Linked DNA regions of Homo sapiens: region 1 is linked to region 2. Evidence: promoter capture Hi-C in 16 types of primary human blood cells and fetal thymus (Javierre and others, 2016). All regions are on one chromosome and are shown on one strand. The core of a region is centred on a gene start or on the middle of the fragment in contact, and the rest is flanking DNA. Distances in the headings are between cores, read along the strand shown.

Region 1 (2,700 bases), core at 143-2,642, 240 kb before region 2:
ATTAGTGCTCAATAAATACTTCCAGAACCTAAAATATGCTGATGGACTGTTTCTTTCAAGCCAAGAAGGGATGCTCTCCTAATCTCACTAACAGGTTGTTACCAGTAAGTGTAGTAGCATGAACCAATGGCCTAACATTTTAATGTCTCGTGTGGATGACTAAACCAAGAAAGGCCAATGAGTCTGCCTGCCCATCCTCAGTCACAGCTAACCCAGTTCTTATTCCAGTTTACCAAACCATTTTTTATTGCATGTTGACTGGTTTACAGCTGACTCTTCGAGGCATGAGTGAAGCGTTAGTTGACAAGCGGGTTGCTCCGGCCCTTGTTACCTTGTCCAGTGATCCTGAATTGTGAGTTTCACAGACTGCGACCTTAAGTTATCCTGTCTGTCTTTTTGAGCATTCTTCTTGGTCTGCTTTTTTTAAATTTATTTAATTTGTCATTGCTAGAGACTAATACAGTATATTTACCTTGTACTTACTTTAATATACATTTTAATAATACTCGTTGTTCATCTCAAATCTTCAGTTTCTTTCTGTTTTAATTCTAACAGCTCTGTCAGGATTGCCACAATTCCAGCCTTTGGCACTATTATGGAAACAGTAATTCAAAGAGAGGTAGGAATAATTGAAATTTATTTATGTCTGTGTAATATTGATGTGGTCATGATACATGTATCTGGTGGTAGGCTGCAGGGAGCATCTTACCTTTTATTTTGTGCCCTAGTTAGTTACAGGCCAGAGGAGGATCTCACTGTGAAAACATGGTAGCCTAACCAAGGTATATTTCCATATCCTAAGGAAATCTCTAGTCTTTCCTCTCAGTCAGAACATTAAGTATAGGCCAAGCTTTCAGGGATGTCCAAGGGAGAGAATATAGTCATGGGTTCTTAGTTTCTCTTTCTGATTGGGCCAGTAAAGCCCCTTCCTCTTCCCTCTTTTCTACTTATCACTAGAGACAGAAACTAAAAACCCCGGCTTCAGGCTGCTAAAAGCCTTAAACAAAACAAAACAGAACAACAACAAAATAAGGTGTATTGGACAAGCTTGCTAGATGTTCTATTGTAAGCTGAGCTGGATGTTGCAGTTTTGAATAATCCTTCAAATCAGGTCTAGTTCCAAAGCCTTCTATTACCCGGTAGGCTTCTGGCCAATCTACATAAATTCTTGATTGCCAGTGTTGCACAGATTTGAGGACTGTTTTCCCAGATAACATCATTAGGAACACAAATGTATCTCAGTTATAAATGAAGGCAAGAGGGCACTTGTATTCTGATAACTGTGTCATTGGTATGAAGCTGTAAAAGTGATTTAGTAGACTGGTATCCTCTTGTTGCAGAGTAGATCTCTGGGCAGACCCTCTGTCATGCCTGTTTCAGGAGACCACCAAGGTCTTCCTTCTTAAAGGTGTATTTTAATTCTGAAACTAATTTCAAGTTTTTTAGATTCTATTTGCAACACTAACTATAAGACACTTCTCAAAATTGATATCAGATTTTTATTTCTTTGTTATTATATTGGATATGTCCTTATACAAATGAAAAAACCCTGTAGATTAGCACATATATTATTTGTGGACATATTACCCAAAAGAAAAAAGTTTTAATAAAACTCCTTTGTCATATAGATTTTTCATGACAAAAACTAAAGTTTTGTTAGTTACAGAAAGAATATTTTCCATTTTTTCACTTATATATTTCACTGGTGAAGCCACAGAGGAAAAGCACATCATTCTGCAAAGCTTGCAGTCTTGGCAGAATTTCAACATGTTCTCAAAACCTAAAATAAAAATGTCTTTTAGGGAAATGTGAGTAAGATGTAAGTCATTAATGACTCATTGCTTTCAGAAGGTGAATAATTGGGTAACTTACAGTGTGATTTGTTTTAAGAATTATAATTTAGATACAAAATAATCATAAAGTTACCTACTTTTCCCTAAATACGGTGGGATTTTTTTTCTTTTGTTGTTATAATTTGTTCAGGAATATTTGTATTTTTTAATTAAGAATTTGTAAGCATAAGCAAAAGTAGGAAACCTTCTCTGAGCCAAAAGATTAAATAACTATTTATTTAATTCCAAATTTCTACTGTCATTGGACTATAGGTTGCTTTAATCCACTGCTTTAAGTCATGTTTAATGTGTGTCTTTCACTTTAACAACACTACTCAGTTTTCAATATTCTATGAAATGACTGTACAATATCCAATTTTAAGTTGCTGGAAAGAGTGAAAATGCAGTTGGCTTCTTTCCTGGAAGATCCTCAGTATCAAGACCAACATTCTTTGCATACAGAGATCATAAAAACATTTGGTAGAGTTGGCCCTAACGCAGAACCCAGGTTCCGAGATGAGTGTAAGTTGCATTTTTCTACCTTTTTCCTGAATTGTAATGTAAGATCAAAGCTAGACACTCCTCTGAGGCCTTGTCATGTATTAAAATTTTGGTGCATTTGTCATGTGTTAAAGCCTTGTGTACTGAAAGCCTTGTGTACTCTTGTGTACTGAAAGCTAAACATGAAACAAGTTAGTTATTGTGAATTAATCAGTATTGATATTAGTGGATGGTTTTGTATTATTTTGTTTTGAGACAGAGTCTCGCTCTGTCACCCAAGCTGGAGTGCAATGGCATGATCTCAGCTCACTGCAACCTCTGCCTCCTGGGTACAAGTGATTCTCCTGCCTCAGCCTCCCAAGTAGTT
Region 2 (2,700 bases), core at 136-2,635:
AGAGTGACTTTTATATATTTTGCCAACCTCAAATGTGCTGAAAACAGTTCTCCCTCTCACCCTTTCATCCCCGAAACTGATTCAGGCTTCAGTTCACCCTTTTACTGAACTGTGAATGAGCCTCTTAGGACATAAACTTGTGAGGTGAACAGAGTTCAGCATATGCTCTCCCAACAGATGTTCCAGCACCACCGCAAAGAGTTACAATGTGATTCTTATCTTTCTGCATACTCCTACTACATAGCTGTAGTAGGACTTCTAAATTTAAAGTCTTAAGATTTTTTTTAACCCACCTTTTAATTAACCCTCAAAAGATCCAGCTGAGTTTTAAAAATTTGGACTATGTTGCTAAAAAAAAAAAAAAAAAAAAAAAAAAGTAACAGTGCGAGTGTAAACATCTTGGAAGCCTAAATCTGAAAAACGTAACAAAACTTTTTTTTTTTAAGTTTAAAGCCTGTCAAGTTGGTAGCTTATTAAATTCCTCCAGTCACATGAAATTCACAGCAGAACAAGGATTCAAAATGGGTTAGGCACCGAAATGTCATTTAGCAAATCAATGATTCCCAAAAGATAGAGGTTTAGGGGCGGGGAAGGGAGAGGCTTTTCCTAAACTATCCAGGAAATAATTTTCACAGAGCGTTACAGACTAGGAGCGTCCCCAGCAGCGCTCACCCTCGGCCGGCCGGGTCCCGCTGCGCACCTCCCGGCCGCGCGTCCCCACCTGCGCACGGTGCCTCCAGCCTGGGCGTGGGCGCGGCCCGGGATCGCGGCGCCGGGGCCGCAAACCGGGGCCGCAAACCAGCGCCGCCACCCGCGTCCGGACCCAGTCCCCTGTGAGCGACACCTGGCAAAGTTTCACAAGGTGGGAGACAGCCCACCGCCGGCTTTCAGGAAGTGCACTGGGCGGTGAGGACTCGAACGAGCTCGTCCCGGGGCTGGCGCACTCACTTCGGAGAAACCCCTGCTCCCGGGACGCGTTCACTCCGGCCGCGCAGGCAGCCCGGGCACCACTGGCGGAGGCGGGGCGGCAGCTGGCAAGCAGAGGAGAATCAGGAGTCCAAAGCCGGGCCAGGGCCCTCAGGAAAGGTGAGAGCGGCCGCGTCCCTCCGCTCACGTGGGCCTCGCACGCTCCTCACCGCTCCCGGGCTACCCTCACGCCGCCCCACGGCCCCAGCCCGCGTCCTCCTCCTGCCGAGCACCAGCCTTTAGGACCGCACGGAAGCCGCCGAGAGGGAGGCGGCCGGCCAGCAGTTGGGCGTGGCTTCCTGGAGAAAGGCGGCCCCCCAGGGGGCGGGGAGAGCGACGTCACCGTCGATTCGCGGTGCTGATTGGCGGAGGTGAGGTGCGCGGAGCCCGCAAGCTTCTCCGCCCGGCCCGGCTGCTCCACCTCCTCACCCAGCCGCTCCGTCCTCACCGGCTCGCGAGGGAACAGCTCAGGCACCGCCGCCCCGGCTCAGCGCGGACGGCGGAGAGAGGGAGGCGGAAGGAGGACACCCTCGCTCGCTTGCTCCCACCCGCACCCGGGCTCCCAGAACCGGCGAGGAGCCCAGGGGGAGGAGCCGTCGCGGGCACGCCCCGCCCCCAGCCCGGGAAGACGACGCCAGCGACCCCGCCGGCCGGCCACCGCCCCCCTCGCCGGCCGAGACCCGCCCCCGGCCCCGGCCCTCCCCCGGCGGCATGGAGGGGCCCCGCTCCTGACGGCCGCGCCGCCGCCTCGGCCCGTGCTCCACCTCGCGGCCCCTCCCGCCCGCCCCCGCTCGCATGTCTGCGCCGCCCTAGCCGAGGATGCTGAGGATGAAGCTGCCGCTGAAGCCAACGCACCCCGCGGAGCCGCCGCCCGAGGCGGAGGAGCCCGAGGCGGACGCGCGGCCGGGCGCGAAGGCGCCTTCGCGCCGCCGCCGCGACTGCCGCCCCCCGCCGCCGCCGCCGCCGCCCGCGGGCCCGTCGCGGGGCCCTCTGCCGCCGCCGCCGCCGCCCCGGGGACTCGGGCCGCCTGTTGCTGGTGGAGCGGCGGCGGGGGCGGGTATGCCGGGCGGCGGCGGGGGGCCCTCGGCGGCGCTGCGCGAGCAGGAGCGGGTATACGAGTGGTTCGGGCTGGTGCTGGGCTCGGCGCAGCGCCTGGAGTTCATGTGCGGGCTGCTGGACCTGTGCAACCCGCTGGAGCTGCGCTTCCTTGGCTCGTGCCTGGAGGACCTGGCGCGCAAGGACTACCACTACCTGCGCGACTCGGAGGCCAAGGCCAACGGCCTCTCGGACCCGGGGCCGCTGGCCGACTTCCGAGAGCCCGCGGTGCGCTCGCGCCTCATCGTCTACCTGGCGCTGCTGGGCTCGGAGAACCGGGAGGCCGCTGGCCGTCTGCACCGCCTGCTACCCCAGGTGGACTCGGTGCTCAAAAGCCTGCGCGCGGCCCGGGGCGAGGGCTCGCGGGGCGGCGCGGAGGACGAGCGCGGCGAGGACGGCGACGGCGAGCAGGACGCCGAGAAGGACGGCTCAGGCCCGGAAGGCGGCATTGTGGAGCCCCGGGTCGGCGGCGGGCTTGGCTCCAGGGCCCAGGAGGAACTGCTGCTGCTCTTCACCATGGCCTCGCTGCACCCGGCTTTCTCCTTCCACCAGCGGGTCACCCTGAGGGAACACTTGGAGAGGCTCCGCGCCGCGCTCCGCGGGGGCCCCGAGGACGCGGAGGTGGAGGTAGAGCCGTGC

The links. The method cuts DNA at HindIII sites, captures the fragments that hold promoters and counts their contacts. A CHiCAGO score of 5 or more calls a contact.
Region 1: a fragment that was not itself captured here is called in contact with the fragment with the promoter of ZCCHC2 in region 2 in 2 of 17 cell types (M2 macrophages and M1 macrophages); the score reaches 5.6 in M2 macrophages.

Annotation. Positions count from the first base shown.
Region 1 is chr18:62,280,091-62,282,790 of GRCh38, forward strand. It overlaps RELCH (RAB11 binding and LisH domain, coiled-coil and HEAT repeat containing), which reads left to right. Exons shown (of 29, transcript NM_001346231.2): 24 at 556-619; 25 at 2,216-2,354. Among named protein-coding and RNA genes, the nearest start is that of TNFRSF11A, 44 kb to the right of the region's middle. The HindIII fragment of the contact is 695 bases long and covers 1,046-1,740 here.
Region 2 is chr18:62,521,640-62,524,339 of GRCh38, forward strand. It overlaps ZCCHC2 (zinc finger CCHC-type containing 2), which reads left to right and starts at 1,386. Exons shown (of 14, transcript NM_017742.6): 1 at 1,386-2,700. The coding sequence starts at 1,786. RefSeq lists silencers at 640-749, 980-1,249, 1,280-1,779, 2,670-2,700 and an enhancer at 2,095-2,668. The HindIII fragment of the contact is 5,111 bases long and covers 1,359-2,700 here.